4 separate regions of the Homo sapiens genome follow, and all the other regions are linked to region 2. The links are contacts of gene promoters, found by promoter capture Hi-C in human tissues and cell types (Jung and others, 2019). All regions are on one chromosome and are shown on one strand. The core of a region is centred on a gene start or on the middle of the fragment in contact, and the rest is flanking DNA. Distances in the headings are between cores, read along the strand shown.

The links. Contacts are between HindIII fragments. The study calls those that stand out against the background at their distance.
Region 1: a contact is called between a fragment that was not itself captured here and the fragment with the promoter of MBOAT4 in region 2, in 1 of the 25 tissues and cell types used here (aorta).
Region 3: a fragment that was not itself captured here is called in contact with the fragment with the promoter of MBOAT4 in region 2 in 1 of the 25 tissues and cell types used here (hippocampus).
Region 4: a contact is called between a fragment that was not itself captured here and the fragment with the promoter of MBOAT4 in region 2, in 1 of the 25 tissues and cell types used here (heart right ventricle).

The regions. Positions count from the first base shown.
Region 1 is chr8:30,549,708-30,556,200 of GRCh38, reverse strand. The region is part of intron 6 of RBPMS (RNA binding protein, mRNA processing factor); the gene reads right to left. Among named protein-coding and RNA genes, the nearest start is that of SMIM18, 86 kb to the left of the region's middle. RefSeq lists enhancers at 5,215-5,509, 6,334-6,493. The HindIII fragment of the contact is 4,833 bases long and covers 1,146-5,978 here.
Region 2 is chr8:30,142,527-30,148,498 of GRCh38, reverse strand. MBOAT4 (membrane bound ghrelin O-acyltransferase MBOAT4) reads left to right here and starts at 3,834. Exons shown (of 3, transcript NM_001100916.2): 1 at 3,834-4,016. The coding sequence starts at 3,898. The HindIII fragment of the contact is 8,892 bases long and covers 1-5,972 here.
Region 3 is chr8:29,647,769-29,654,087 of GRCh38, reverse strand. No RefSeq gene overlaps it. Among named protein-coding and RNA genes, the nearest start is that of LINC02948, 89 kb to the right of the region's middle. The HindIII fragment of the contact is 7,238 bases long and covers 1-5,063 here.
Region 4 is chr8:29,806,192-29,812,169 of GRCh38, reverse strand. No RefSeq gene overlaps it. Among named protein-coding and RNA genes, the nearest start is that of LINC02099, 61 kb to the right of the region's middle. The HindIII fragment of the contact is 3,779 bases long and covers 93-3,871 here.

The DNA of each region.
Region 1 (6,493 bases), core at 2,313-4,812, 410 kb before region 2:
GAGTGGATGTGGTGGCGGGTGGCGGACACACAGACCCCTGAATTCATTGCTCTTGTGTCTCAGGCTAGGACACTATGTGCTTGCCAAGTGGGGGGCTCTTCTCACCGCATCCACAGACACCCACGGCTGCCTCCTCTTCCAGCCTGAGAGGCTCCGCTGCGCCCAGCTTCCAGCAGAGGGCAGTGCCCCCCTGGCCAAGTCTGAGCGGCTCATCCAGGTTCCCGCACCACAGCCGGCAGAGCGGCAGGGCTCATGGTGCACAGCAGAGTTCGGGCAGCCGGCCCGGTGGGGGGGAACAAGCTGCTCCGCGCTAATCACTGTGTGGGGGTAATGAGGAGAGGGTTCTCTCTTAGCCCCATTCGGGCTGCTTGTTCTGCTGGGCTTTTGGCCCCAGGTCACTCCTGCCCATCCCATAAGGGCTGCTTTACAATTCTTCTTAACGGGGAAACCTACAGTTCCCTCCAGACTGCCTGCGTCAAGGTCCTCTCCAAACAGTTCAGCAGGCTAGTTTAGGGCTCCCCATTAGAATAATGTGACAAGGGCTGGCCTTCCATGCAAGGCAGCGGCCCCTCACATTTCTTCATGCCATGTGCAGAAAACGTATGTGTACACAAACACACACCCTCTCTCTCTTCTCCCATAGTTCTCTCTCTCAAATGTGCACACTCACAGTCTTGCACACAATTCCAGGGGCTTCTCAAGACCCTGTGAGAAACTTTAACACAATATACTTAACCAAACTGACCCTGACATTTAGTCTGCGTCAGAGACCGCGCTAAGCACTTCACACAGCCTGTGACATCTAAGGCAACGTGGACGACCCTGGGAATCTTCTCCACTAGAACTTAACAATAGTGGTAAGTTATTACCATGTTACAGTTCACTACCCAGGGCCACACTGTTTGGGATTCTACCATCCCTCTTCTTCAGGAATGCTCTGAAAATGCAGTGCCCCTGCATGGCTAACACTGTAAGTCTCCAGCACTCAGCATGGTGACAGATTGGACAACAGGAGAGCACCAAGATACCCAGAAAAAGAAGCAACTCAGAGTAAAAATCAAATGGAATGCTAGAGAAAGCGGTACCCACCCATAAAAATAATTTCCATCCTCTTCCATTTATAGATGAAAAATGAAGGCCCAGAGGATTAAATACAGACAGAATTTATGTTCCTAATACTGATGCCAAGGACAGGAAGACCTTGACTAGTCTCGGGAGGACGCCCTGCCTGAAGTACCAACCCTTCTGCAGTGGTGAGTGACTGGCACAGGGTAAAACTCTACAGTAATGATTTGCATTGCGCTATCCCCTTTCTAGGGGCTGAATCCCACTATCATACTTGCCCTTAGAAAGAGTCACGAAAAGTGCTTAGCAGGTGACTGGCTCAATTAATAGTCACTACTGAAAGCAAATACTCTCTGGTTGGACTGTTTTCTTCTCTGGGGAATGAAGGGGTAAGCCTAGACCAGTGGTTCTCAGGTTCCTGGACCAACGGCATCACCTGGGAACTTGTCAGAAATGCCAAAACTCTGGGAGAGGCATCCAATAAACGACACTGTAACCAGCCCCCCAGGTGATCACCAGGCACATGGTCAAGTCTGAGAGATGCTGCTTTTAATTAAGGTTTCGAAAAGTATGGCTGGAAGAACACTGGTCTAGAAATGCTCTAATGTCAAGGACATTAGAGAGAAATGCACAATTTGGTCCCTTCAGCAGTTTCTTGATATGTGTGGGCACAGTAATGGCTCCAAGAAGTTCCAAAATAAAGAAACCTGTTTGACTTGATCTAGACCTGTGCTGCCCAAGTTTATCTGACTGCAGGATCTCTGGATTATGGAACAGCTGTGAATCCCTGTGGGTGTTGAGAAATGCTGGTCTGGAAGGTCCCTTCCAGTGGTAGCATTTGGTGGATCTAAGAGGCTGGGCTGTGCCATTTGCATGCTTCGAGCTGGAAGACAGACCACCAAACCGGCTAGTGCTCTGATGTCTCATGTACATGGAGCAGCTACAGATTTTCTCTCACCTTCCCTAGTGCAGATGCTGTACCTGAATGCAGGTTTCCCCTGCACCACATTCAGAAGTCAGCTATCCCTCTTTGAACAAAATAGTTAATAACAGTAGCTTGGGCAGGGCGCCGTGGCTCATGCCTGTAATCCCAGCACTTCGGGAGGCTGAGGCGGGTGGATCATGAGGTCAAGAGATAGAGACCATCCTGGCTATTATGGTGAAACCCCATCTCTACTAAAAATACAAAAAATTAGCTGGGTGTGGTGGTGTGCGCCTGTAGTCCCAGCTACTCAGGAGGCTGAGGCAGGAGGATTGCGTGAACCTGGGAGGTGGAGGTTGCAGTGAGCTGAGATGGCGCCACTGCATGCCAGCCTGGTGACAGAGGGAGACTTCCTCAACAAAAGACAAAACAAAACAAAACCCACAGTAGCTTGAACAAGTTGTTTTATGTAAATGACAAGAATGTTATCTCAAACTAATGGGTTAATGTTTTGAAGGCATGGATATTCTCAGGCAGGTTTCCATGACTCTCCCTAGAATGGAGCGCTGAAGTTCGCTGTGGGGCTCGTTCCCAACACTGAGCAACTGCAGGGAACCACTCACACAGTGACTACCTACCATCAGCTCTGCCCTACTCGCTCCAGACCTCAGGATCCACTTTTGGGTGGCATCACCAAATAAAGCACGTTAGGCCATTACAGCAAGCTCTGTCAGAGACTGCCAGGCTGAAGAGAGGCTGCCAAGCCCAGCATAATCTGGTCCAAGAAACTCCAAACTCATCGAATAGGCTGGAGGGATGATGTGCAATACAAAAAGATTGTCTTCCTTACAGCGCTGATTGCAAGATTCTTTTAAACAGCAACCCTCACCTCCATTTCTAAAAAAGCACTCACCAAAACTGGAAGAACACTTTTTGGGAATTTCGCTGCTGCATGAAATGAGGCCCTCTTGTAAAGGAACCACTCCTCTTCTCCCTGCCCCCCAGAATCGGCAGCCTATACTCTTTCTCAGCAGACTCAGGCATGAAAACGCCATCAGCATTCTTCACTACCTGTCTGGCACCTAATAGTCCTTGCCTAGGGCAATTAAGTCGCTATGATCTAGGCAGAATGTCAAGATTTGTATGACTTGGTCCTTGGTTAAGGCTGCCATCTCACCTGCCCCAACAGCTGGAAAAGAGGTGAGCAAGAAAGTCCTAGCTGGAGGAGGCCATGCTCCCCGCTGGCCTTGTGCTCTTGCCGGATCTTCCAGTCACGATGGCAGGTGCTACTGAGGTCCGAGCCCAGGCAGGGACAAGGTCTAGACCACAAGGACAAGGTCCTAGGACTGTGAGTACATCCTGGTAAGCCTGATCAAAGCTGGGTTTAATGAAACAAAAGCCTCCAGGGAGAATTTTCTCTCCTGGGCTCTTAGACTCTTTTCCTGTCTGTCCTAAGCACAAGCTAAGCCCTGCTTCCAAACAGGCATGTGAAATGTGCCCAGACATCTCAGAAGTTCACTTGAGATGCCACTTGGGTTAAAAGCACCCAAGCATGTAACACCCTGTGTCAGATTAAGTCCACAGTGGTTGCTTGTCATCCATATTTAATTCTGTCAGTCTGTTAATTTTTAACTATGTTTGCTATCAAGGGCCATTAGAGGTCCCCAGGAGCTGAGCTCAGTGAAGCGCATAGAACTTCGTGGCAGAACGCACAAAGCTTGAAGTTGGGGTGTCCCACTTTCCCATCCTGTCGCTGGGTCTGGCCTTCCCCACCGGCAGCACAAATCCTGAATAAAACATGATTCCATTTGGAGTTGATTTTCCTTTACCCCTACTGTCACAATTGGTTTTCTTCACAGAAAAGTTCACTCTCCCCTTTTATGAAGGCTACATTTTATAATTCCAAAGTTTCTCTGTGGCCTTGGTTTTGTTTCCAAAGCAGTTAGAGTTCACATACTTTCCGGACGGCATCTGGGTGCCTATGCCTACAGAAGAAAAAAACCTTGGGTACACACCCAGCTGACCCAACCAGACGGCCTCCTCTCGGTATACGCCACAGCCACGGACCATTCTCACCCTGGCTCTGGTGTTTCTCTTCTTTACCAAAGCAAAAAGCCCAGGCCCTTAGGTTTCTCTTATCAGGGTGCTGGTCAGGAGTCCCTGTGTCCTAAGTGCTTCTCAAGCTTACAGGGAGGGCTCAGGAGCCTCTGGGCCACACCAGATCGAATCCTGACAAAGGGAAGGCATTGGAAGAACTATTTTAATCATAACTATGACTTTAAGCCAAACATCTTACTGTTTTCTGCAAAATAAACCCATGGAGATGTTCATTCTTCCCATTTATAGATGAGGAAACTGAGGCTCCGTGCAGTTAAAAACCAACTTGCCTAGGATCCCAAATTTAGCAGAGTGGGTAGAAACTGTCATTAAAATCAGGTTTGTTTGATTTAAAAAACTGAGTCCCAGTTAGGTGCCAGGCGCTCAGCAGCACCCGACTGTGACAGTTGGGCCACGCGGTTGTTAATCCCAGGGAAGAGCCGAGCGCAGACGGCACTTCCAGGTGCGACTTGTTGGGACTCAGGGTTGGGCTCTTACTACTATTAAGGACAGGGGAGAAGGCGCGTAGGATCTGGGGAGTTTAACCTTCCGCAAAGGACAACATGGAACACACTTAGAAACCTGGAAAACAGTGTACCAAATGGAGAGTAATGGAGTAATGGAGAGTAATGGTGCCCCCAGTCAGGAGGAGGCCCACGTTGAGATGTTCTGGCAATCCTGAATAATACTGTGATTTCTACGGAAGTCTCCTTGGGGTGAGTGACCCTGGCCAAAGCCACACAGCCATACACTAGGGGACCGACTCTGGTTTCTGAACGGCATTTCCTCCTAAAACTGCCCAACATGGAGAGGCCTGGGCCTCAGTAGCAGCAGCAGTTCTGGACAAAAGAACACGTCTCCCTAACACCCTGGACGGATGGTTTTGGAGGACTGCTTCTAAAGAGGGTGAAGGACAAAATGCTGATGTCTCTCTCACTGCAAATGACGGAAGAGGTGGAGAGGGTCACCAGGGAGAGAGCATCTGCCTGGCCGGGGGCAGATTCTCGGGTTTCCTGGCAGAACTGTGAAGAGAGCAATATCCCCAAGTACAAGCTGTAACTCCATTGCCTGGAAATGAGGCTGAGGAGAATACTAGCAGAAGGACTGTGGGAAGAAAGTGCCAGAAAGTCCAGGGAGGAATGGGCTGGGTGACCTGTGATTCTTTCTCCAGTTTCTCCGATAGGAAAGTGAGATAAGGCTGCAGCTGGAAAGGTCAGGGACAGCGGGTTTGTGTAAAGTAACTCGTGAGGGCAAGGGCCATTCCGTCGCTGGGATTCAGCTGCCCAGCCCCCTCCACCCCGGATGTATTTCCTGTCAGAAGGGGGTTCCGGTGGCCGTGTCCAGCCTGGTTTGGGGAGGCCCCTCTTTTGGATAAGCTCTCCCAGTGCTGGCGTAAGCTGTGAAGATCACACTGCCAGGAGCAGGGCAGGTGCTGTCAATCGGTGCTGTGGGTGGTGCTCTCACTGCAATGCCTCATCTTACTCCCGTCATTCATTCATGCTTTCCAGTCTTCCATTTGGCTCCAGCCGTGAGGTCTCTAGCAGCCCCTGTTAGTGTCATCCACATGTGCTGGCCATCCTGTGTCTTAACTGTCACGGCCTTGTGGGTAGCTTAGGCTTAGTCCTGGGCTTCCTTCTCCTTACTGAAAATTCAAGTGCCCCTTAAAAGATCCTTGGGAAGGGCTACCTTTAAAGCAAACATGAAGCCCTTCTAATATGCCGGGCATTCTCTTAAGTGTTTATGTGAAGGATTATTGGCCCTTTTCCTGAAGCCCAGAGAGGTTAAGAAACTTGCTCAATTGAGGTCGCACAGCGTGTAAATGGCAGAGCTCCTGTGTGGCCAGGGAGTTCCAGAGCCTGTCTTTTCCACCCTACATTTCTTGCCATGAGCTTAGAAAGGAAATGAAGCCCCGCAGAGCTCTCCTGAAAGGCGCAGCTCAGAGCACAGGCCCTGCATCAGGAGGCAGGCATAGAAATCGCCCCCAGGCGCTTGTAATCCCAGCACTTTGGGAGGCCAAGGCGGGCAGATCATAAGGTCATGAGATCGAGACCATCCTGGCTAACACAGTGAAACCCCGTCTCTACTAAAAATACAAAAAATGAGCCAGGCGTGGTGACAGGCGCCTGTAGTCCCAGCTACTTGGGAGGCTGAGGCAGGAGAATGGCATGAACCCGGGAGGCGGAGCTTGCAGTGAGCCGAGATCACACCACTGCACTCCAGCCTGGGCGACAGAGCGAGACTCTGCCTCAGAAAAAAAAAAGAAGAAAGAAAAGAAAGAAAAGAAAGAAAAGAGAGAGAGAGAGAGAGAGAGGAGAGAGGGGAGAGAGAGAGAGAGAGAGAGAGAAGAAAAGAAAAGAAAAGAAAAGGAAAGAAAGAAAGAAAGAAAGAAATCGCCTCCAGGAAGGGCCT
Region 2 (5,972 bases), core at 2,585-5,084:
TAATTTAATGGTAGCTATGATGTGGTGATCACCATTGCCGTAAGTATTCCTTCAACAAGGGCTGACACAAAGAACAATTATACTTATTGGGCATATTTATCAATCTTGGCTGGCAATAATGCCTGGATGTAATCAGTCTATGACACAGTTACACATGCTTTCTGACCTCAGTATTTACCATAATAAATCTGCTCCTATAACTGAGGCATACCACCCTCAAAAACCTATTTGTAAACAGAATTGGACCTGGCCAGAATTAATGGACGTACTTGTTTGGGAAGATTGCATTGCAGAACAGGCAGAGGTGCTGTGCAACGATTCCTATGGAATCATTATTAATTCGTCCCCAAGGGGATGTTTAGCTTGAATTGCACCTCTCAGTCTGCATGCCATGGCCACACTATATTCAGCTGGTCTGAACAAAACAGTCAGATGGTAGAAACGGTAAGAAGTATGGCAAGAGTTCCTATTATCTGGAACCATGGTGGTATAGTGGCACCTCAACCTCAAATGATACGTCCCACTGTAGGAGCTAAACATAAGGATTTGTGGAAACAATTAATAGCTCTTAATAAGATCAAAATTTGGGAAAGAATAAAAAAGCATCTAGAAGGACACTGTACAAACTTGTCTTTGGATATCACAAAATTAAAAGAACAAATATTTAAAGCATCCCAGGCACACCTGACATTAATGCCAGGAACTGGAGTGCTTGAAGGAGCTGCAGACAGATTAGCAGCTAGTAACCCATTAAAATGGATAAAAACACTTGGATGCTCTGTGATTTCAATGATGATTGTGCTTTTAATCTGTGTTGTTTGTCTTTGTGTAGTCTGCAGATGCATATCCTGACTCCTGTGAGAAGTAGCTCACTGTGACAAAGCTGCCTTTGCTTGTATTGTTTTGTAAATCAAAGAAGGGGGACATGTTGGGAATAGGCCCCCAAAATCTGGCCATAAACTGGCCATAAACAAAATATCTGTAGCACTATGACATGTTCGTGATGGCCATGATGCCCACACTGGAAGGTTGTGGTTTTACTGGAATGAGGGCAAAGAACACCTGGCCCACCCAGGGCGGAAAACTGCTTAAAGGCATTCTTAAACCACAAACAATAGCATGAGCGATCTGTGCCTTTAGGACATGCTCCTGCTGCAGATAACGAGCCAGAGCCCATCCTTTTATTTCGGCCCATCCCTTTATTTCCCATAAGGAATACTTTTAGTTAATCTAAAATCTATAGAAACAATGCTTATCACTGGCTTGCTGTCAATAAAGACGTGGGTAAATCTCTGTTTGAGGCTCTCAGGTCTCAGCTCTGAAGGCTGTGAGACCCCTGATTTCCCACTCTATACGCTTTATTTCTGTGTGTGTGTCTTTAATTCCTCTAGTGCTGCTGGGTTAGGGTCTCCATGACCAAACTACTCTCGGCATTCCCATTAACTGTTTTATTGTTGCCTAAGACTTTGTGCCTTCTGTGGCCTAGAATAAGCCACCCATCTGCTTGCAAACATCCTTTCACAGAGAGCCAACTTAAGCAGTTCCACTCTTCCAAAATCCTTTTTGATTCCCTATTTCTGCAGGTGATTGTTTCTTTCTTTATCCCCTACCATACACCTGTGCACCTACAGTTCATTAAGAAAGGTATTTATTTCCATTTCTGTCTCTCCAGTAGACTGAGAGCAACATGAGTGCAGGGACCATGTCTTACTCATCCCCATATTCCTAGTGCTTAGCAAAGAGTCTGTCATAAAGTGGTAGCCCAATAATGCTCATAATGTTAATTATTCAATCACTTTACCTTCAGCTACATTCAACCAGCCAGCTTTATATGCCATGCTTTTACATGCTTTATCTGATTTTCATAACAGTTCTGTTGAGATAGGCCTAATTATGTCTAGTTTTAAGGTGAAGCTTAGTCCCAGAGAGGTGATGTGACTTGCTCAAAGTTCCCCAATCAATAAGATTCTTTTGGATTTTCTTCTCTGTGCAGAGCAGTCTCTGATATGTTTGGGTCTATGTCCCCACCCAAATCTCATCCCCAGTTATAATCCCCATGTATTGAGGAAGGGAAGTGACTGGATTATGGGAACGGTTTCCCCATGCTGTTCTCGTGATCATTCTCACATGATAGTTCTCATGAGATCTGGTGGTTTTATAAATGGTGTTTTCTTCCTGCGCTCTTACTTCTCTTTCCTGTCACCTTGTAAAGAAGGTACTTGCTTCTCCTTTGCCTTCCACCATGACTGTAAGTTTCCAGAGGCCTCTCCAGCCATGCAGAACTGTGAGTCAATTAAACCTCTGTCCTTTATAAATTACCGGTCTCGGGTAGTTCTTTATAGCAGTGTGAAAACGGACGAATACAGTCTCTCACTAAAAGATGGTCCTTGCCCTGAAGATGCTCATGTCAGATTTTCCTGTCCTTTATTGACAACTTGCTCATGCAAGTGACTTTGGAGAGGGAAAACAACTGATCAGGGACAGCCCTGGAATGCCCTGGGCTCAGGAGATGGATCGCTACTAGCCAAGAGATGTCTTGCCTCTAGGAAGTCTCTTCTGTATTACTTGTCAAGAAAAGATTCTCTTGAAATGTTTCCCCTCTACACTTTGATATCCTCAAAACCTTTTTTTTTTTTTTCCAAGACGGAGTTTCACTCTTGTTGCCCAGGCTGGAGTGCAGCGGCATAATCTCAGCGCACTGCAACCTCTGCCCCCTGGGTTCAAGTGATTGTCCTGCCTCAGCCTCCTGAGTAGCTGGGATTACAGGTGTCCACCACCATGCCCAGCTAAATTTTTGCATTTTTCATAGAGACAGGGTTTCACATGTTGGCCAGGCTAGTCTTGAACTGCTGACCTCAGATGATCCACCCACCTCGCCTTCCCAAAGTGCTAGGATTACAGGCATGAGCCACCACAGCCAGCCTCCTCAAAATCTTTTAAACAAATATTTACTGGGTATATAGTATGTATTCAGCAGTGTTCTATGTGCTACGGATACAGTAATCAACAAAACAAAGTCTTTCCCTTGTAGAGCTCATGTTGTAAAGGGGGCAGGAAAATGAATTGAGAAATAGATACATAAGAGGTACTGATACGAAAAAAAGTAGCATAAGGAGGAGAGTTGTGGTGAGGAAGGGGAATCTTGGTTTTTGCCTTAAGAACCTGCCTCCAGCTGGGTGCAGTTCCTTATGCCTATAATCTCAGCACTTTGGGAGGCTGAGGCAGGAGGATCGCTTGACACCAGGAGTTTGAGATCAGCCTGGCCAACATGGCAAAACCCCATCTCTATAAAAAAAATATAAAAATTAGCTGGGCATGGTGGCACATGCCTATAGCCCCAGCTTCTCAGGAGGCTGAGGTGGGAGGATCACTTGAGCTGGGGAGATAGAGGTTGCAGTGAGCCAAGGTTGTGCCACTGCACTCCAGCCTGGGTGACAGAGCCAGACCCTATCTCAAAAAAAGAAAAAGAAAAGAACCTGCTTCCCTTCCTCCTGGTCACATTCTTGTTTCCCCTTTTCAGTCCACAGAGTTGTCTGTCCACAGTTGGGAAATGAGATTTTTCATTAACTTAGTGAAGAAAATACGACAGCATGATGACTGGAAAGGTAAATAGTATACTATGTCAATGAAACAAAACCACGCTTCCAAAAGCAATGTTTTTAGTGCATGTCATGATTAATGTTACACCAAAATGTGTTTTGGTTTCCATAGTGCAGTTCCTCAATCAGAAAGCCAGTTTTTATTCTGCTTATCTCCAGAGCTTTTGTTTGCCTTTTGCTCACCCTAGCCCCGCTAAACCAGATAAAAAGACCAGAGACAGCCTGGTTGAGATTACTCTTGGAGGAAGGCATCAGTTAAGGACACTGGAAAAGACAGGCTCTTTTGTTCTGGTTCCTAATGGAGTGGCTTTGGCTGTTCTTTCTCCATCCTATATCGTTTTACCAGGGGGCTGCATTTCCCTTTGCACTTCTCTTCAATTATCTCTGCATCATGGATTCATTCTCCACTCGTGCCAGGTAGGCTGGATGGCTATTTTTACTCTTACATCCAGAAATACTATAGTGACTGGGTGCGGTGGCTCACGCCCGTAATCCCTGCAATTTGGGAGGCTGAGGCGGGCAGATCACTTGAGGCCAGGGGTTTGAGAACTGCCTGGCCAACATAGCGAAACCCTGTCTCTAATGCAAATACAAAAAAAATTAGCTGGGCATGGTGGCTCATGCCTGTAGTTCCAGCTCCTCGGGAGGGAGGCAGGAGACCTGCTTAAGCCCAGGAGGTGGAGGTTGCAGTGAGCCGAGATGGCGCCATTGCACTCCAGCCTGGGCAACGGAGCAAGCCTCTATCTAAAAAAAAAAAAAATTCAGAAATACTATAGTAGGGCAAAAAGCAGAGTAGACTGCAGATGTGAAGATTACAATATATTAATTACACTTGTTTTTAACTTACTCTCACTGTCACTGATTATTGATATTTGATAATGAATATATATAACAGAGTAAAACTAAACTGGAAATTCACATCCTTCCTGCACTGATGTAAGGTTTGCTGGGTTCAGGTTAAATGGCAGATGAGTGAAAATAAACTCTCAGGAGAGATGGTTGTTGCGATGGTACAGGAATTCTCCAAATGGATACATCTCTGTCAACCATGGATCTCAGATATTCTTGAATAGTCCTAATTTTATGGAATTTTATCATTTTCAATCAAATTAAATTTTATATAAAGTTACATCAGTATAAGTTTTATTATAACTAAATGTGATTTTTAAAGTGCCTTTATATGAATTCTCAGAGAAATGAAATAAGTCAAAATGAATCTTGTTAGATTAGCTATATGATAATTTGAAGTTCAAAAATTATCACTAGAGATGTGATGACTTGATTGTAATGATTTTTTAAATATCAAATAACCTCAACACATTAGAGACAGCACCTATTTTTTTAGATTGCTCATATAAGATTTTATGTTTTTAACATAGTCAAAAGGCAAGAACTTAACTGAACATAGAACAGAAATGGTGAGTGTACTGTTAACATGGCTACATGATTTTCTGTTAAATTGAAAAGTCGCAAATACATTTTTTATTTTATTTATTTTTATATATATATATATATATATATATATATATATATTTTTTTTTTTTTTTTTTTTGAGACGGAGTCTCGCTCTGTCGCCCAGGCTGGAGTGCAGTGGCACGATCTCGGCTCACTGCAACCTCCACCTCCTGGATTCAAGGGATTCTCCTGCCTCAGCCTCCCCAGTACCTGGGACTATAGGTGCACACCACCATGCCCAGCTAATTTGAAATACATTTTTAAAAATAATTCCAATTTTTATTTTAGATTCAAGGGGTACATGTGTAGGTTTGTTACGTGGGTATATTGTATGATGCTGAGGGTTGGGGTATGATTGATCCCATCACCCAGGTAGTGAGCACAGTACCCAAGAGTTAGTTTTTCAACCCTTTTTCCCTGACAGTCCCTATTTTTAACAAGGTTTTGTGGAATGTCCTTTTGTAAAGTGAAAATCTGTTGCCAAAGGGCCACTTCCTAATAATTCACTTATTTTGGGAATTAGGATTTTTATATATTGGGATTCTTAAATAAAATATAGCTGTATCTAACGATCAGTTAGGATTGTGGAATTTGATTAAACAATGGTATGATCAAGTGTTCACAACTGTCTCATGGCCCTTAACTTCACTAATGGAGATTGGAGTTGGGGGACAGCTGTAAAGAAGTTTCCTTTTGAGAAAGATTCTCAAAACAATAAAGCAACATGAGTGCAAAAATAAGGATTAATCCTCATGGAGTTACCTTAGGGTGAAGATTGCTCAGTTTCTGGCTGGATGCAGTGGCTCACACCTGTAATCCCAGTAACTGGGAGGCAGAGGCAAGTGGATAGCTTGAGCCCAGGAGTTTGAGACCTGCCCGGGCAACATGACAAAATCCCTGTCTCTACAAAAAGTACAA
Region 3 (6,319 bases), core at 195-2,694, 490 kb after region 2:
GGCATGACAGAAGGGGACATTCCCGACAGGGGGCATAGTGGGGACCAAACTCTCAAATAGCTAGGGCCCTGCTGCCTTGGCTATTGGCTGTTAGGGGTGTAGGAATTTCTGTTGGTCTGAAACAGAGAAGCCAAACCCTAAGGAAATGCTCAGGCCAGGCTGTATGTGCCTTTAGCAGAATTCTGAAGTGTGAGATCTTGATGGAAGCTCTGACAAAACGAGGGGCAAAACAGGGCTGGGTGGGAAAACACCCAGTGCTCTGAAGGTTAGTCCAGAGTGAGAAGCAAAACCTGAATCCCCAAGGCAGGACTCCAGGCACTAGGAACTGAGCTGTGCAAGTCAGAGAAGGCTGGTCAGCCAGACTAACTCCCTGTTAAGCCAGGTAAGCTACAGACATAGGGCTTCTTGAATCCCCCTTAGCAAGGCAGGGCTGAGTGTGGGAGTGGATGTGGAAGGTGGTGAGCTGGCAGATCAGGGCACTCCGTATTCCTCCTACCCACTTTCTTCCCCACCAGTTGGTTTCCTTGCGTTGCTTTGAAACAAGATGCTGTCTTGTGCCTGCCTCCGTCAAAGACTGAAACCTTTGTTTAATGTTAGAAAATACCATGTTTAAAGGAGTCTCTGTTAGAGCAGCTGTACTATAGAATCAAGGAATGAATTTTGGGTAGGAAGACAGAGAACCACATTCTTGCCCAAGAATTTTTGACCTGGTATTCGTGAAATGACCTTCAGTGTGTTTACAAGTCTCCCAAACAAATCTGCAAAATTGTGTGGGTTTGCTTTAAATTCATGGAGAGAAGAATTCATTTAACTATGAATTGCCGTCATGCAGAACTATGCCCTCGAAAGTATTCATGCTTCTCATTTATAGATGAGAACTTGGCACACAGAGATGGCAGGACTTGGAGCTCCTCATCAGTAAGGCTTTTGTTTTACATCAATGTATCTCCAACATATATTAGTCAATCAAGGAACATATGTAGAGTGAATGGATGATGAGTAAATGGATGGATGATGGATGAATGAATGAATGAAGGCTTCCTGCTGTCAGTCCACTCATACTCTCACTGCATCCCCACCATGCCCCATTGACTGCTCCAACTCCAGCTTCATGTTGGGATGGTGAATGCCAAGCAGGGCAACTTCGGGATCCGGGGTAGATGCAGTGGTGCAGAAGAGCTGGGGCCTCAGGGTACAGAGGCCTCCACTGCACGAAAGCCCCACCTGGTACATTCTTCCCTTGGGGACCATCACCCTGTCCCCACTGTTCCACCACCTCTTCTCAGGAAAAGAGTGAGCTGGGGTGACCTGCGCTAGTGAAACCGGCCCTTGGTCCTGATATCCAAAGCTCACCTGTCCTGCCTCCGGCTCTGGAAATGTTTTGTCTTGTGTATTTTTCAAGACAGTGAAAGAAGACACAGTTTCATGTTCGAGGTGAGCATTTATCTTCTAGAACACCTGAAACATGGCTGTTTGATTGCCGAGTTAGACAAACATTTTGCATCTGGCATTTGGACCTCCATATCTCCACTTTCTACCTTGCAGAGCGGTGAGGGTGGGTAACAGTGACCAGCAGTGACAAGCTGCTTTGATGTGATCATTGGCTGATTAACCAATGAAGTCTTCCTCCTTTCCTCCTTCCTTCCTCTTTCTTCTCTTCCTCCCTCTTTCTTTTCCTTTTTTCGTTTCTTTCCTCCATTTCTTCCTTCCTTTCCTCTCACTCTTTCTTCCTAACTATGGGCCACTGGACCAGGTGCTAGAGATACCATAGAGTAAGATACAACCTCTGTAAGAGATTGTATCTCTGGGCCACGGGCAGGGTATAGAGGATTGTATCTCTGGACCACGGCAGGGTATAGAGGTCCCCCCAGGAGGGAGTCATCTATGCAAGCCAGAAGGTCAGGAAAGATCTCACAGGCCAAGATAAAGTGACAATTGAGATGAGGCTTAGAAGACTTTGCCAGGCAAACTCATGACTAAGGGCAGCTTGGGCAAAGAGGAGAAGCATAGCCTTTGGGAAGCATAAGTAACTTAGGGTGACAGGCATGGGCCCAGTGTATGTCTGCTATTAAAAAAAAGGTGGGGGGAGGTGTCAAGAAAACACATCAAGAGTTGATGCTAGACATTGAAATTATCCATATTATTAATCATCACAATATTCGGTACTTATGACCCATGTGGGTAATAATCTGAACTAACTAAGTAAACCACTAACTGGGAGTCTAGAAAAACTTCTAGTTTCATGCTTGAGAGGCAGGGTGAATGGTTTTCATTGAAGACAAGGTGTTTCTATTTCCAAAGACCTTCTGATATAGCCCATTGCTCCATGAAACCCCTCTCACTGTCAGTGCAGTCATCTTCACGGGGAAAATAGAAGGGGTTTAAGTTAATGGTTGTTAAGCTTTTAGAACAGAGCCTATTACAGAGTGTCATGGATGTGTCTATTAAGTAAATAAGAATGAAATTTGTTGAATACCATGTGCCATGTATGATCTTAGGTATTTATTTCATTTCCAACAACCCTGAAAGTTAGATCCAAATTCTTATTTTATATTTACAGAAACTGAAGTTCTCAGAGATTCAGTAACTTGCCTGAAGTTACTAATAAGTGGTCAAGCTGCAGTTTAAACCTAAACCCATCGAAGTGCATGTTGCTTCCAGCTGGGACACCCAGCCCACTTAGGGATGGCTGGAATCCTAAGTCCTTCTGTGTCATATCTGAGTGTCGACGGAAGTAGCAGATGCCCATCCTCATGGTGAGAACCTTTTCAGACACGGGGTTGGTGACCTGTCCCCAAAGGTCAGTGCAGTGGTCCTGTGTGGGGTGCAGTGTAGGGTAGGGCTCAGCAGGCAAGGTCTTCAAGCCTGCACAGCCAGCCCCAAGCTCTGGATCTCTGATTATTATGGAATTGGATGGGAACATGATTCTAACATAACCCAAGTGCCGAAAGAGAGCAAATACTCAAATGGGAAAGCACTGATGAATGAAGGTGGAGCTTACCCAAGTTCAAATAGCTTAACATTTGCAGGATTCTCATAGGATCTTTACCCTATGGCTTTTTCCCCCCAGAAATTTCAAGAAAGGACCATTATTAGTGATGGGAGGAAGGCACCTTGATACTACTTTCTAACATCCTTAAAGAAAAACCCCTGGATGTTCTGATATATTTAAGAAGAAATAAGAGATAGGAAGATAAATCAGAAGTCCAAAACCCTAGAGTTCTAAGGCCTGCTCTTTCATTAACTAACTATATGACTGGTGGCAACTCATGCTCCATGCCTCAGTTTACCCATATTTAAAATAAAAGATTTGGGCTGGATCATTTTTGGTAAATGCTCAAACTTTAAAATATTATAAGCCAATAATGGAACAAAACTAAGTTTCTTCTGATAAATGTGTTTCTTTCTCCTGGGCTCCTTCTTCTGTCCTGTAAAAACTGCCCTGACCACCTCCTTTCAAAAGAGTATTTCCTGTGCTGTGGTGAAACCTCTGTCTTCTTTTCCAAGGCCACATGCTTCTGCCCACACTAACTTCCCAAGCACTTTCAGGCATCAGTTCATTTTCCTCATATCACCTACCACAACTTGTCATTATATATTTATAGATTTGTTTGTTTTATAGAGACTGTTTCTCCTATGAGATTGCAAGTTCCATGAGAACAGCTACTATGCCTGCTTTGTTTACCAACGCATATTCACTGTCCAGCATTGTGTGTGGAACATAAAAGGCTCTTGGTTAATGCCTGCTGAATAAATGAATCTGTCATCTTCCCTTTTTTGATCATTATCATAGGTATCATTTGTTAAGGGCTTACTAGGGATCAGACATTGAGCTGATGCTTTGCATGTATTACCTCATGAACACATCACAACAACCTCACCTGGCAGGTTGCATCTGTTTTGCAGATGAAGTCACTGAGGATCCAAGAGGTCATGGAGCAAATGCACTCTAGAACCTGGATCCAAACCACAGCTGACTCACTCAGAGTCTAAGTACTGAGCCCTTGCAAAGTACTACCTTGGGTCCTCAGTGACTCTGAGCATTAGGTCGGACATGTAGTAGGTTCTCAGGATATGTGTACTGAATTGAGTCTCTGTGTGATGGAGCTAACAGATGGTAAATGGAGGTCAGTATTTATGACCCATGGGGCTGATAATCTGAAGCTTCAATGCCTGAGGTGGATTCTGAAATCTGGAGCAAGGATTGGTAGAGTAGAAAATCTCTTTCTAACAATGAGATTCATTCTTGTGTGCGTGGAGAGTTTAACAGAGCTCCTTTCTTCCACCGTATGAGGGTGTGACTTCAAATTTTTCTTGAAATGCACATTTTTAATTAGAAGATTTTATGTGGGTTGCCAAGCTTCTGAGAACTAAAAGGACACTTGTGCCTCGGGGACACTTACAGAGACTGGTCCCTCGGTAAGTGCATAATAAAAAATACACAGAGAGCAACTGAAATTAAACCCACAGGGAACCCATTGCACTTGGTTTCAAATACCTAAAGACTTGACAGCTACAGAATAAAGAGAAAGAACAGAAACAAAAGTCAATGCCAATTTGCTTAATTTGGGGTTCTTTTTCCTGAGAGTATCTTTCTGAGAATCTAGAGTTGGCAGAAATGTTGGAGACTGTCAGGTCTAAGACCCCCTCCTGCAGATGGGAGACTGAGGCCCGAAGAAGTTGTGGCAAGGTCAAAGCAAGGTCAAACCAAGTGAGCTATGGGTCAGAAAGAAGAGAAGGCATCACTGTGTGCTACAGCAGGGCCCTAGGAGAAATTTGCTGGTGGTGAGGAAGATGGGGATTGGTGGGGATTGCAAGAGTAGGGGGTGGGGCGGACAGCTCTCTAGCAATATGGCTTCTGCTCTGTTCAAAGCGAAATTAGAAATTGTTCAAACAGAAAATGAGTATGTCAAGAAAATCACATGTCAAGGAATATAGAGTCACTTATTAGTGTTTGTCTCCAGAACATAATCTAACGGACTGTAGGAGAAATCCCAGATTCTCTTGGGCTCCTTTGCTGCCTCAAGCTCTCTTATACTTGAATCCCCCACCCTTAGACACATTGCTGTCCCTTAAACTTGAGAGTAGCGCCAATAAATCTCCAAATAGCCTGGACTGAACTGGAATCAGAATAATATTAATGCACTTAAGGAAAGAATGGGTCATTGAAAAGGTGAGGGGTAGTATCTTAGAATATATAATTCAAAGGGGAGAATAGCCTGGTACATTCAGCACTGCCCAGGTGAAAGGAATACAGTATGTGAAGGACGCTAGTAGCTCTAATCACCAGAGGTATAGGGTAGGATGTAGAAGTATTTCACAGGGAATTTTAATAAAATGTTTCTCCAAGCTGGATCTGATTCCATGGTTGCAAGTAATCTTCATAAACTTCAATGACCAGGCCAGGTGTGGTGGCTCACACTGGTAATCCTAGTATTTTGGAAGGCCAAAGTGGGAGGATCACTTGAGGTAAGGAGTTGAAGACCAGCCTCGGCAACATAGAGAGAGCTCATCTCTACAAAAATTTTTTTTTAATTAGCCAGGTGTGATGGTACGTGCCCATAGTCCTAGCTACTAAAGAGACTGAGGCAGGAGGACCCCCTCAAGCCCAGAAGTGAGCTACAGTGAGTTATGATCGTGCCACTGCACTCCAGCCTGGGTGACAGAGCGAGACCTTGTCACTAAAACATTTAAAAAACAAAACACAACAAAACTTCAACAATTGATGACCTGGTGTGTGTTATTTTTAAAATCTTGATTTTAAAGCTTGATTCTAGGAATGGGGTATGAGCATGTACACAGGACTGCTGAGAGCTGGTTTGAGCACAGTGAAGAAATGAGACTTGGAGCCCCATCAAAGGCAGACAGCTAGAAATCTTCACAGGGGATTTATGCTCAAGTCCAAGTCTCCTTTCCACCCTGGCAGCTCCAGCAGCCTGTCCTTAGCTTCCACTTCCTGTGTAGTTCATCAGCTCTGGATGGACATGAGTGGTCCTGTCACTGGGGAAAGAGATCATTCTTGCTATAAATACATGGATGGTGTGGCTTCAGTGTCCACCTCTGTGAAGTGAGTTGTTGAAACGATATCTTAGGAAGTCTATGAACCTGTGATATGGTTTGGCTGTGCCCCCACCCAAACCCCATCTTGAATTCCCACGTGTGGTGGGAGGGACTCAGTGGGAGGTAATTGAATCATGGGGGCAAGTCTTTCCTGTGCCGTTTTCATGACAGCGAATAAGTCTCACAAGATCTGATGGTTTTAAAAAGAAGAATTCCCCTGCACAAGCTCCCTCTCGTTGCCTGCTGCCATCCATGTAAG
Region 4 (5,978 bases), core at 733-3,232, 330 kb after region 2:
GTCAGAAATAGGAATTCCAAGATAAAATTAAGAATTTCAGGATGGTGATCTTAGGAGCTTCCCTTGCCAAGCCGGGAGTTCTGGACACCTGCACTGATTTGTGACCTCAGCCAGCCTTGATTTGAGGTGCAGCCTCAGTGGCTCTGGCATAGATATCGGAAAACCACTGAGCTGGAACACCAGGCAGGTCACAGGGGTTTGAATTTGTAATTCAACATTTCTATTGATACGTGCCTTTTATAAATGCTCCGTGGCCTTTTAATAACTTGGTGTGTTATCTTGCCCAGAGTTTTCGTTCACTATTAATACTGATTCTGTCACTGTTGAGATATCTGACTCTGGACAGACTCTGCTCCTTGGCTTCCTCTTCTCTTTTAGTTCTTATTCTTTGTGATTCTGCAAACTTAGTTTTAAAGCCTCATATTGGATATTAAGACAAACGACATCATACAACGTAGTTCACCCTATCCATTGATCTGTCTGGCTTCTGTGTTTAAACAAAAGGGACTGGCAGTCTTGCCAAATCCCTCACTCACCCTATGTTGTATTTTAGATCATGTTTCAAGAAAGGGAGGCCCCTGTGTCCAGTTATTGATTAGCTGGGGAGGAAAAAAATGGCTTTGCCTCATTTCTTGTTAGGTAGCAATCCACGTATCTTTCCAGTAAGCAGCATGACACTTCAGGGGGCTCTGGAAGACATTTGACACTCTGGCGTCAGAGAGCCAAGGCCTGGGAGGTGTGTCCAGCAGTGTGTGTATCCAGGAAGCAGCAGAGGAACACAGCATCTGACAGTTCTGTCACTCCTGGCTGTGTGACTGCAGGCTAGTCACTTTCTGTCTCTGGGCTTCAGTTTTTCCATCTTAAAATAAAGAGATTGGACTAGGTCATCTCCAGGGTTTCATCTGGCTCCAAAATCTAAGATTTTATGACTGTGAATCAACAACTTCCATCTTCTCAGGGGCCTCCAGTCAAGTCATTCTGGGGATCACAGTCTTTCATAATCTCTGAAGCTTCATTTCTCAAAACAGCTCAGAGCGGGCCTGTCATGGTGGCTCACGCCTATAATCCCAGCACTTTGGAAGGGTGAGGTGGGTGGATCACCTGAGGTCAGGAGTTCGAGACCAGCCTGGCCACCGTGGTGAAACCCCATCTCTACTACAAATACAAAAAATTATCTGGGTGTGGTGGCGGGCGCCTGTAATCCCAGCTACTTTGGAGGCTGAGGCAGGAGAATCACTTGAACCCTGGGAGGCAGAGGTTGCAGTGAACTGAGATGGCGCCGTTGCACTCCAGCCTGGAAAACAAGAGCAAAACTCTGTCTCAAAACAAACAACAAAACAGCTTACAGCACAGTTCCCAGCCTGTTAGAAAGAGGAGAGGCATTGAGGTACATGTCAGGCTCCATCGTAAATGCATGTGAATGGGAAATGGACCCAGTGACTCAGAGCTCGCCAAAGACCCCAGCCCATAAGCAGTCTTCCGACAAGACTGGCATTGCTATTCTTGCCCCTTCAGGCAAGGGTGTTCTGCAGCTCATTGCTGAGTTCATTACTGGAACAATACAAAGAAGCCAACAGTTAATTATACACTGAAGAAGCTCCTTCACATCAGCCTCTACTCAGCTCTCTTTTTCATGCCCTCTGAAAAGACGTAATCATCCATTATAGTCATCACCAGCTTTGTTACTTTGTGTGCCTCTAATTGGCACTTTTCTTTTAGACAGTGAGGTATAGTGGAAAATATGCTCATCGAAGAGACAGCAGCCTGGGGTTGTGATTCTGGGCCTATTAATACTCCATTGTGTAACCCTGAGTGAGTTCCCTTCACCTTTTTGGGTCTTGGCCGTCCAATCAAAAGGAGGGGGTTGGAGCAGATCTAGCTAAGCTTTGCTTCTGCCAGACATTCTGTTACTGTCTCCCCAGATGTGCTCAGTAGCATGCCAGTTATCATGGGAGACATGGAAAAGTAAACATGTGCTCTAGTTCTGGCCCTCAGAAAGTGCTCAGCACTGGGGACCAGGTGGAAACAGAGAAGTGTATCATTGTGCAACTCTTCAAGGGCTACAGGAGTTTCCAGCAGGAAAATTTAATTTGCTAGCTGGAACAAGAGGGAAGAGGCCATCCTGGCTCCACTGGAGAGTCTCATGTTGGGAACAGGGGTGGTAATGCTGAAAGGAAGGGAGAAGTCAGACTAACAATAAAGGCAAACAAGTTTGGACTTCATCAGCAATAAGGCACCAGTGTCAACATTTGACTAGTGGAGTTACAGCATGAGATAGACTCCTTAGAAAATGTGTCAGTTAGGAATGCATTTGGCTGCACCAACCACTGTGGTCTAAACACACCTGGGTAGATTTTTTTCTTGTCTATAACAAGACATCAGTAGGTGGCAGGTACTGGTGTTGGCTTAGCAGTCGGGGTTACTGTGACATTAGAATGCAGACATACTGGTGCCAGGGTTATTTCTGCAATTTCCTTAGCCTTTTACTCATGGTTGCAAGACAGCTGCTATGGTGCCTGCTCACATCTCTACGTAAGCCAAAAAGAGAAAAGATAGAAAAAAAAAAAAAAGAGTGACTGCGGGGGGGTTTTGCAGCAGTTAAGTCATTCCTTTTAAATCACAAAAAACTTTCAAAGAAGCCCCCAATCCCAGACCCCCTAAAACAAAACTAAATTTCTGACTTTGTCTTAAGGGCCATAGCTTGGCTACATGGCTATCTTTGATGCAAAGAGGATTTCCAGCCTCTTACAGAAGTCATTCCCAAGCCTGCTTTCCCTCACAGCCTCCTATTACACATCATGCATTGATTGAAAAAAAATTTTTTTTTGTGCTAGTTAACTGTGAGCATCTTAAGAAACTTCCCACCTTTGTGTCTGGAGCATTAGATGCAATGCTGGGTTCACAGTGATCCTTCATTCACGACTGTGGGTGTGAATGCAGTGAAGACAGCTCGGATGGGGAACTCCCTGCCTCTATTACTTCTCTTAAATAACCAAACGTCTGAAGTGTTGGCCAGAATGTGTGTTAATATTCTGGCCCTATTCCAGCATATTTCATAGCAGCCATTAAAGAATATATTCTTAGGTTTGCACTTATAAAACTTTATTGGCTTAATCCATTTATTATCATACATTTGCAGTTGAAGTCTTGAAGTGTAGCTTAGCTACATAGCTGCACCTACCCATTGGTACAAGCCACAGCATGCAAGTTGGTGAGCTTCTGGCAACAGTTTTTGTTTGTTTGTTTGTTTGTTTGTTGAGATGGAGTCTCGCTCTATCGCCCAGGCTGATACAATCAAGGCGAAACTGTAACTTTCGCCTCCTGGGTTCAAATGATTCTTATGCCTCAGCCTCCAGAGTAGCTGGGACTATAGGCATGCACCAATAAGCTCAGCTAATTTTTGTATTTTCGTAGAGGTGGAGTTTCACCATGCTGGCGAGGCTGGTCTCAAACTCCTGACCTCGGGTGATCTGCCCACCTCAGCCTCCTAAAATGCTGGCATTACAGACATGAGCCACCGTGCCTGGTGACTGGTGACAGATTTAATTACTTTACCAGCTCTGAACAACCTCTATCCATGGTAGATAACTGTAGTGGTTTTTGCTCTTTCCTGAATGACTATTAAAAAAAAATTTCTTAGTTTGATCAAATAATTTGCCTTGCTTCATCCATAATTCTGCTTCATCTCAATTGAGCTTATTTTATTAAAGGGCAGGAAGTCCTCTGAATTTCTATTTCTGGACAGGTTTCTGTGGGAGTCTTTTTAATGTTTTTCCTGCTGCCTTTTCTCCTTTATCTTTACAAGTTCCGGTTCTATAAAACCGGTCATTTTTACTGACCATTACTGCAGGCTGAATTTTTCCCTATAAACCCTAATTTTGTAATCTGGGAGCAATATACATTGCTAATGTGATTTTTGTTCCCTTCTCTCCTTCTGAGTCTGGAAGAGTAGCCTTTCTTTTGTAGATTTATGGTGAGGTCTTGTACTCAGCGCTCTCACAATGCAGATGAGTTTTCTGACTATAATGGACCATTTTACAGCCTTATGGTTTGCCTATTTCTCAATGAATTTAATATTTTCTTCAATTTGTGAGCTAAATGTTAACTCCTGGGTTTTTTTTATTGATCCAGTACTATTATAAAATGCATGTTTCTTTATGTCTAGAGCCTATGACTGCAATTACTGCGTGTGAAGATTATGTACAGATTCTAATATGCATATTAATCTCACTATGCTATGGAACTGGTCCTTGCAGAGTTGTGCCTCATGAAGGGACACTGTAACCTCAAATGCTTTCTAAATGGATGGCCCCAAAACAGCAATGTCTCCCCTACACATACCCTCCCCTACTGGTGGCTGTCTTTATGGTAGAAGGGGAAGACAGCAAACATCCTACAGTTGTAGATTTTGGAAGTGGAGCATGAAAAAAATAAAACTGACCCTTGTGAGATTCATTTGTTTACAGAACAGGATTTTGTGGTCCAAACCATGCCTCTGGATGCCCTGGGGGCGGCAGTAAATGGAAGCCTCTGGCTGGAGGGAGAAGCGTAGCTGCCCAGCTACTCACATATTCATATATTCTCTCTCGCTTGAGGCTGAATATATTTCTACCTAGCAAGGAAGCCGTGCTGACACACAGCCCCAGCACAGAATTCCACATTCCTTTGTGTTCAGGGAACAATGATTTAGGTTAGCTGGGATTAACCCACAGTTGAACCTCGGCGAGATGGGTTCCGAGTCTCTCAATGAATTCAGCAGTCACTGACAGCTTCGTGAATGGGATTCGCTGCCTGATGCATGAGCTGAGTTGTCACAGGCAGGGCGGGGAAGGCAGGCTGGAAAATCCCCATGCCTGGCTGCCTCCCGATGTGTCCCCCAAGATTGCGCTCTGGGGGTTTCTGTGAAGGGGAGCCCTCCTATTGCCAGCCTGCTCAGACCACACAGGCACGCACAGCCCTGCCTCACGGAAGCATCTGACAATTTTTAAAAAGTCCTTTCTGCAGAGAGCCCAGAGCCTGCATGTTTTAACCCCCAAGTGGTAGCAGGCTTGTTTTGATAGTTGGAGCCAGACATTTATATCTGTATAAAATAATACTGGACGATGAGGAATATGCATGAGATCATGAAAATAAGCAGTAAAGGCAGATTTTGATAGCCTCTCTCTAGAATTGTTAAGCCTTTCTTTTTTTTTCTTTTGAAAAGGGGATAGAAGAGCTGCACATCTAATATAATCAGTCCTTTTTGGAGAAATGTGTGAATGGGCTACTGTCAGTCCAAACAGGCGTCATTTAGTGTCCATCCATCTTATTTCTCTCACTAACATGTCAGTCTCCCTTGTCTTCCACTCACATCATTCAAGGTGAAAAACACTGAATAGGTTCTTGTTGTTCTTTGTATTTTTTTCATTGTTCTAGGGCTGTGCTGATGCCGACACATCAAGTCTATGATTTGGAGGAGAAAGGAGGTAAGGAGGAGAGAACCAACATGCATTGAGCACCTGTGATGTGCTAGGCTTCATACCCATCATCTTATTTAATCTGCCCACATTTAAGATGTGGTGATGTCATCCCCACTTCCTGACTGAAGACACCACAGTTGAGACAGCTCCAGAAAGGGTTCCCACGTCTTGCAGAGGTTAGAGACAGAGGTTAGAGTCTGCCTCAACACACCCCTGAAAACCCCATGTGGCCTAAAAAGCAAAGCATTTAAAGTAGTATTCATAGTGATCTATTTCATTTGTATATGCTGACTTACATATGTCAATTGCTGTATCTTAGACAATGACATTTTATTTCAGTAGTTTATAAGCCTCATCCTTCAAATACTGAAAAAGAAAAAAAGAAATGCTCAAACAAGCTTTGAAAGTGTATTCATGGTCTTTAGCTTCCTAGATCTTTCTGTGATTTCTAGCTCACTCCATTTCTTAATGTGGCAGGGGGCTTCCACAGTTGGGTGGAAACAGGGTCACCATGGGCCC